2 separate regions of the Homo sapiens genome follow, and region 1 is linked to region 2. The links are contacts of gene promoters, found by promoter capture Hi-C in blood cells and fetal thymus (Javierre and others, 2016). All regions are on one chromosome and are shown on one strand. Each heading gives the region's core, a stretch centred on a gene start or on the middle of the fragment in contact. The rest is flanking DNA. Distances are from core to core; before and after follow the strand shown.

The links. The method cuts DNA at HindIII sites, captures the fragments that hold promoters and counts their contacts. A CHiCAGO score of 5 or more calls a contact.
Region 1: a contact is called between a fragment that was not itself captured here and the fragment with the promoter of PLCE1-AS1 in region 2, in 1 of 17 cell types (megakaryocytes). The highest score is 5.8, in megakaryocytes.

Annotation. Positions count from the first base shown.
Region 1 is chr10:93,816,624-93,820,878 of GRCh38, forward strand. No RefSeq gene overlaps it. Among named protein-coding and RNA genes, the nearest start is that of LGI1, 61 kb to the left of the region's middle. The HindIII fragment of the contact is 484 bases long and covers 1,819-2,302 here.
Region 2 is chr10:94,284,596-94,288,843 of GRCh38, forward strand. PLCE1-AS1 (PLCE1 antisense RNA 1) reads right to left here and starts at 2,475. Exons shown (of 4, transcript NR_033969.1): 1 at 2,246-2,475. PLCE1 (phospholipase C epsilon 1) reads left to right here. Exons shown (of 33, transcript NM_016341.4): 22 at 253-370. The HindIII fragment of the contact is 4,167 bases long and covers 89-4,248 here.

The DNA of each region.
Region 1 (4,255 bases), core at 811-3,310, 470 kb before region 2:
TCAACCAAGGTAGATAGTAAATAAATAAATAAGTAAGTAAATAAATGAAAGGGAAGGAAGGAGAAAAGAAGAGAGGCAGGTAGGGAGAGAAGGAGGAAGGCTCTTGGCCCCAAATTATCATTTCCTCTAATTCTCCATTTACAAAACTCCATTCCTTCTTGCCCCCTCACCACCCGCCTCTTTTCACCATCCTAGGGACACTTTGTAACTATTCCCTACAATATGTCTTCAAAACATTAAATCAGAACCAAGCCACACCAATGAAAGCAAACCTCAACTCTCTGGTTCCAAAAACCACCGGGGTCTCTTCCTGGACACTAAAGATATATTCTGACCCCCTCCTCCTGCCTCCCGTGAGCCTCCACCTCGGCAGCATGACTTGCTGCTGCTAGATCTGTACCTGCCAGCTCACCTCACCTCTTAACCCCCTGCTTGCATTTTCTTCAGGTTCTTGTCTTTGATGCACAGTTCTTAAAGTATCTCCTAATTAAGTGCTCGGAAACAGGTGCCAATAAATCTAGTTACAGTAATATTTCAAAGAGGTGTTTTACAAAATAAATCGATGTTTATGGTTCAGTATGTGGTGTATGGTAATGGTGTTCTTTAATGGATTTTCCTCACACAGCCCATCTCAGCTCCAGCTGAGGCTGGATGCTCCCAGCCCCCAGCCCCTAGCCCCAGTTCCCCGTCCTAACTGAACACTACTACAGAAAAGTCCAGAAAGAAGACAGCAGTTCACTTATCATCTTGAAACTTCAATCAGATCATGCCATTCTGCTTAAAACCCTCCATTGCTCTCCTATAACATTTAGAATAAGATACAGAATGTCCACAATGGCCTCTAAAGTCTGTGGGGTTTTCCTCTACCCACAGCATCCCACCCTATTCCCTGCTCACTGCTATCTAGCCCCATGAAAACCCTTTCTGTTCATGGAAGATGCGAAACCTTTTTCTGCCTCAGACTCTTGTACTTGTTTTCCCTTCTGCCTGGAATGCTTCCCCATGCCCAGTTCTTTGGATGGAGAGGTCATTCTAATGCTTCAGGACCCAGTTCTAAGGTGTTAAGAATATTCTATATCCTGGAATTTGTGCACCTTATTGTATGGATGTCACATCTCGGTAAAAGGTAAAATGTAATGTATTACTAATTCACTACTAGATCACCCTTTTGATTTCCTTCCTGACAATGATCACAAACCATAATTATCATATTAACTTGTTTACTTGTTTACTGTCTGTCTTCCACTTAGATCAGGAGGTGGCAAACTATGCCACCATCCAAGTCTAGCCACCACTTATTTTTATAAACAAAGTTTCATTGGTACCTAGCCACACCCATCCATTTACTGTTGTCTGTGGCTGCTTTTACTAAGCTACAGTGGCAGAACTGAGTAATTGTAACACAGATTGTATAGCTTCACAAAACCTAAGATGCTTACTGTCTAGCCCTTTCCAAAAAAAAAAAAACAGCTTGAAACCCCTGCCATGGACTGTAAGTTTCATGAAGGCAAGAACTGTGTCAGTCTTCTCCACCTGTATTTCAGGATCCAAAACAGTGCCTGGCACAAACTCAGCAACCCCTCAATAAGTGTTGGCTCCTGTCCGGCCCCTACCACTGGCTCCCCTGGCGCAGTCTCCTAGCTTGCCCTTTCCCTCATCTGATCCTGGCGCCTGGCCATTTGCCTGCAGAGTGTAGGTTCTTGCCATCTGCCAGTCCCTTGTAGCCCTGCCTCCTTGCTCGATGTCACCAAACTGGTGCTTCTTGTGCCCTGATGCTGAAAACCCATCTAATCACAACCAATAATCTTCTAACACAAAAGCTTCCTCTGCTGTTTGTGTGTTTTAGAAGCAATCGTTTTGTAGTATGCCAATCCATTCTCTATAATCATGAAAGATGCCTGTCTTAAAATGTCCTTCTATCATTCAGCTTTTTGTTAATATATTTATTTAGGTATCTTCCTATTATAAAAGCGATTCATATACATAACACACAATTTTGAAAATAAAGAAAAACTAAGAGACAACCGTTTTTAGCACTGATGTGGTTTCTTTTTATTAGTCTTTCTATGCTATTTTTTAATGCATGCTTGTATAAAACAACAAAAAATGGCTACAAATTTTCTCCCTTGTATTATAATAAGCATTTTTATATCATATATTCTTTGTAAAGTATTATTTTAGTAGCTGCATAATATTATATTAAATGGAAATATTAATATTTATTTATTGTTGGGAAATATTTATAATATATTCAGATCTTTACCATAGAAAGTAATACAGCCATGAACATCTTTGTGTATGAAGCTTTTTTCCCCCATTTTTTGGATTACTTCCTCTAGGAAGAGTTCCAGAAACAGAATTACTGGATCAAGAACCATTGTTTTGAGTTCAGATAAATACTGGCATCCTCACTTTTAAAAGGCCTGAAAACTTCTTAATAAAGATATCAGAGCAAATGCATTCATAATCCTCTTTCCTGTGCTCCAAGTCCATAGGAATGACAGGTTAGATATTAAATACATATTTCTATGCTTCTCTAAAAATGCAAGAGGAAAATGTCACTGGCTCAAAAAAGGAGTAAAACTTAAACAATAAGCAAAGTATAAAACCACAGGGACAAACAGTGAGACTGGAACTAGGCAAACAAGACTGGAGTCCAGAGGAAGGACTGAATGTAGCCCTTGGTAGTGGGGAGCTACCCAAGAACAGTGGATGACAGAACTTCATCCGTACATCTAGAACAGTGGCAGAAATACACCACTTGCTCAGGGTCAGTGTCCAAAGCAGAGTCCTATATTAGTCCATTCTCACACTGCTAGAAAGAACTATTTGAGACTTGGTTATTTATGAAGAAAAGGAGTTTAATTGACTCACGGTTCAACAGGCTCTACAGTTTCACATGGCCAGGGGGCCTCAGGAAACTTACAATCATGGCAGAAGGTGAAGGAGAAGCATATCTTAGCAAGGCAGAGTAGAAGGAGAGACAGAATGAGGGGGAAAGTGCCACACACTTTTAAACCATCGGATCTCATGAGAACTCATTCGTTATCACAAGAACAGCAAGGGGGAAATCCACCTCCGTGATCCAATCACCTCCCACCAGTCTCCTCCCCTGACATGTGAGGATTGCAATTTGACATAAGATTTGGGTGAGACATGGAGCCAAACCATATCAGTGCTATTCCTGGTGCTGGAGAGGAAACACTTTACCTTCACAGAGTCAGTGCCTGGGGGCCTACGAATCTAAACCATCAAAAGATAGATTGACAAGAGAAAAGAAGAGTTGATTTAAGCATGCAATGTGCATACACACAGGAGTGCTCAGTGATGCACTCAGTGATTGTGCTCACTGTTAGAATTCAGGGCTTATGTACCTAACATAGTAGGGGAAGGAAAAAGGAGAAAAGGCTCCTATGAGAAGAACAAATAGGTTTCCTTAGGAAAGACAATTGGATTTTTATGAGAATAAATGGGAGATAAGAAAGTTTGTGACATTTTATTTACATAGGTGCTAGTGGCCTTTCTCTCTTCTTCACAGCTAGGACTCTCCCTAGGAGAAGGGATTTATGGTAGTCTCATTTCCCAAAGTTGCTGTGTTTCATCAGATTAGGAAAGCTCCAAGAAAGTCTTTTTCTGCATCTGTTGAGTCTCAAATGTCTTCAGCTTAAAATAATCTTTACAACAACTCTGTAATCGCCTGATGAGTTCGTCCCATCCTCTGCACAGACAAAACCAATTCACCGAGACCATGGTATTGCAGTAGTTTAATTGATGTGAGGCTGGCCACAGGGGAAATAGAGTTAGTACTCAAATCAGTCTCCCCAAAGGCTCACGGGTTAGGGTTTTTCAAGGATAGTTTGGTGGGCAGGGGATAGAGAATGGGTGCTGCTGATTGGTTGGCAATGCAATCATAGGGGTGTGGAAAATGGTCACCATCTGTGCACTGAGTCCACCTCTTGGTGGGAGAGGAGGGCACAGAAATAGTTGAGTTATGAGTCATGAGTCTGGGTGGCATCAGTCTGAAAAACATCTCAAAAGACCAATCTTAAGTTCTACAATAGTGATATTATCTATATGAGCAATTAGGGAAGTCATAAATCTTGTGACCTCTGGCCACACGATTCCTGAGAAGTAAGGGATCATAAAAACTATACCGACATTTTAGCAGAATTCAGGGCCCTCCCATAATCCTAATCTTATGGCCTTTCATTAGTCTTATGAAAGTAGTTTCAGCCCGCCCCCTGGCCCCAACAAG
Region 2 (4,248 bases), core at 1,225-3,724:
GATTTATTGACCATTCCACATGTAAGACAGTGGACCATGCACTGAGGGAAGATGGAGGATGAATTAGACTCACCTCCTGCCCTCAGAAAGCTTTTACTCTAGGAAAGCTGTTGGGACATGTATATGGATAATTACCATGCAAGGGGAAATACAGTAATAACACCAGAGGAGGACAGATAAAAGAGCTTTGGGAATCCAGAGGTGAGTAGCATATACCTTCCATGTAAAATGGTATCATTTTTCCCTTACCAGGTTTATGATATGGAACTGGGAGAAGAATTTTATCTTGATCAGAATAAAAAGGAAAGCAGACAGATTGCACCAGAGCTTTCTGACCTTGTAATCTATTGTCAAGCAGTAAAATTTCCAGGTAAGATTAGGCAATATCATCTATAACTTTTAAAGATATCAAAGGTTAAAAATATGCCATTTATTTAATTGGGCATTGTGAACACTCTCAAAATAACTAAATTGTGTTGCTGAAATCATTGTTATAATACCTCCTAAATATCTTTATTATTATAATTTGCCTTGATGCTCATGAAGAAAAATACCATAAAGTATTCATTTTTCAGGTCACACAATGTCTTTTTATAATAGTTAATAATTATAAAAGTTATAATACTCATAATTTCTAATTGCTAAATGTATTAAATACTTAAGTACTAGGATTTGTGCTATTTTACGTACATCTCCTTTACCGTTCATAATGATTCTACAAGGTAGGCGGTATTATCTCCATTTTAAAATAAAGTCTGAGAGGGATGAAGTAATTTGCCCCAAGTTTCAGAGTATATCAGTCAAGATTCTTTTGTTTGAAAGTGGCAGAAATTGACCTAAGTAAAGGGAACTTTATTGACTCATGTGCTTAAAAATGAAGACACACAGGTTTCAGGTATAGCTTAACCAAGGTACATGCTTTCTCTTTCCTCATTTCTCATTCCGCCTCCATCATGTTGGCTTTCTCCCCTTTATTCCCTTCTGGTTGCGAGACGGCTACAGCAGGCCAGCACTACATGCTTCCAGTTTCAGCTTCAGTGTAAGAGTCTCTTCCAGAACTTCCCGCAGAAGTGTCATTGTTTCTCATTGGGTCCTTTACCAATCACTGTGGCCAGGAGATGCAGTGCTCTGATGGTCTGGATCCCATGTCACATTCTCCACTCTGAGCTGGGTAGCAAGGCCCCACCCAAACCACAAGGACCAAGGATGGCGTTGAAGTGGAAGGAGAGATTTCCCCCAATTGACCGTTTTTAGAAGTACAGTGGACAGGCTGATGAACCACTTTCCAAAAACAGTGTCCTTTTCAATTAATGAATGGTAGACCTATGGCTCTGAAGCCTGTCTGTCTCCAAAGTCCTGCCCTTACCCGTTATACTGCCTGGCCTCTCTTGTTTCGGGCTGTTTTCAATGAGGTACTCAATTATGTGTCCCACAAATGGGGCACCAGGGGGTAGAAGACAAACAAGAAAGTCCCTAAGTACATGGAACTCAGAAAAATTCATCTCCTCATACTAAGAAAAAGGATTCTCTTGAATATAATTTCTGAGAACAGGAAAGTGGCTGAGATAGGAGGATCAGTCTAAATGTTAGTAAACAGGATTTATAGACTTGGCCTGGAGAGAGGCACTAAAATGCCCTCATCTTTTCAAGATGGGCTGAACTCAGGTCCCTCCCAGAGCATATCTTAAGCACCTGGTCTCACACAGTGCCTGACAAATGGGCCAGAGGCATTGGGCTATTTAAAAATTAGGCAAACTGGGTGTAGTGGTGCGTGCCTGTAATCCCAGCTACCAGGGAGGCTGAGCAGGAGAAATGCTTGAGTCTAGGAGTTCAAGCCCAGCCTGGGCAAGATATATAGCAAGACCTCATCTCTAAAAAATAATAATTAAATTTTTAAAATCACAGTTAGGTAATAGTGAGCTTTTCACACATCAGAGTAAAAAAAATCATATTATTTAATGATATGATAAAAATCATATATTTCATGATATTAAAATCATTTTAATTGTAAGTTTTCTCCTATAAGCTGTTTTTAAACTTTTGGCAGCTGCTACTGCTTGTCTGCTAGCAAATCCTGTTGAGGAGGATATGAATCAATAAGTAGCCAGCAAAGATTTCAGAGAAATGCAGGAACCTGGCCATTTAAGTTTAATTTCACAGACCATGACCTCATGGCATATAAGTACAATATGACCATTATTTGCAACTGGCAAAACTCTTTTTCTGATGGAGTAAAACCCTTTACCTGTCAAAGAGCCTGGAGGCTGGCATGTCCTTCATTGCAGGAACAAGGATGAGCGCCACTCTGTCCAAGAATCACACCCACTGCAGCTCTTATTCTTTATAAATGCAGCGGATGCCACACTCGGACCATTCCACTGGCTTTGTCTTTTCTTCTCAAGCACTCAGTAAATAAGGAGCACAAATTCCCAAAGATATTTGAAGTCTGTGTGAAAGATAAAGTCTCTGTACCAGTAGAGAATCGTGGAAGATCAGGAGGTCATGTGATAGAGCTTCTAAGCATGTGGTTGTTCGGCTTATTTTAAAAATTCCAAGTATGTTGTTTTTTAAAAGTGTTCACATAGCATACATTTCTTCATAGGTATAGTGTATTTTCTCTTTAGAAAAATGAAATTTCTTACATTTTTTCCCTGATTTTATTTCCTGTCTCAAAATAGCTAAATTGGATTGCCAGAATGATTGTTATAATACCTTCTAAATATTTCTTTTTACAATCATTTGTTTGATGCACATGAGGAAAATACTATAAACTGTTCATTTTGCTATGCCGTTTATTTTAATTTTGCTACATTATCAATTTCAGTGTATGTCACCTTTCATCATCCCAAGTCCCTTCTTACAAGCCATATGCAAAAAAAAAAAAAAAACCCTTCATTGCAATGAGGCACTCAACAATCATGTGGTATGAGGCCCACAGAAAGGAAGGAACTTCCCCACCATCAGAAGCTAGGTCAGTGGCAGGGCAAGAGCCAGAATTCCTGTCAGCTCCCAGGGGTGGGCTCTTTGCACCACACTATGGAAGTAGTTGAATTTTTTCGACCTGCTTTCTCTTAGGGTTTATTTCTCGGTTGCATTTAGTACTTCTATTGTCCTGGGTTTTTTTCTCCTTCTAATAGAAAAAAAAAAGGATATGGTATTTTTATTTTATGACCCCATCAACCTAGTTTCCAATATCTTCCCACAAGCTCCCCTGCATCCCCCACTCTCCTCAGGCACCTACATACACTGCCGTCTTTCTAGTGCCAGGCCATTGCTCAGAGTGTTCTCAACCTTGCCTGGCCTTCCTTCTCCCCTTGGCCCCATTCCAAATTCCAAGGACGGGGTCCTTGGAAAGTATCTGAGACTCTTCAACTCATTGTGACATCTCCTTTCTGGAGCTCCTTCATTTATAGGCATATGTTTGGGTACCTCCTAGATACCCAGTTGTTCCACAGTTAGGAGTGCAACCTTGTTCTTTTATTTTGAATTTTTTTATTTTGACAGCTTTAGTGGTACAAGTAGTTTTTGGTTACATGGATGAATTGTATAGTGATGAAGTCTGGGATTTTAGCGCACCTGTCACCCAAGTCGTGTAAGTCATACCCACCAGGTAGTTTTTCATCCCTCACCTCCCTCCCACTCTCATTCTGAGTCTCCAATGTCCATTACGCTGCTCTGTATGCCTTGACATACCCATAGCTTAAAAGATTACAACCCTGTAAGACAAAAATTATTCAGTGGTGACAAGATCATCAGATAAGATCGTGGGTCAGAGACCTGGGCTCTTGGCTACCATGCTTTGTGATTTGGCCAAGGCAAATCTCTCTGAGCCTTTCTCACTCAAAAGTGGAGTTGACTAGAATCCTTGTTTACTACACTTGCTGAAATCTCCAGAATCACCCAGGCCACTTGATTAACATACCCAGTCTCAGGCCTCTCTACCAGGGATTTACATTTGGAAGGCACTGGGAGGTCCTGGTCCCTGGGTTTCTAAGGCAGGCAATTCAGGAGCAGGTAGAGCCAGATGATCTGGAAGTCTGATTCTGAGGGGGATTTTGCCTCATTCTCCTTTGGATCCACCACACAGTCCACAGAGCAGGTGCCCAGGGATTCCATGGTGAGGCTCGTCCGGAAGATTCTGTGACTTCCAGGGCTCATTTTTATTCCTACACTGAAGGAGCCACATGGGGAGAGCCTTGCAAGTGTCAGTCCATTCCCTGGACACACACTGTCATTTTCTCAGCACTG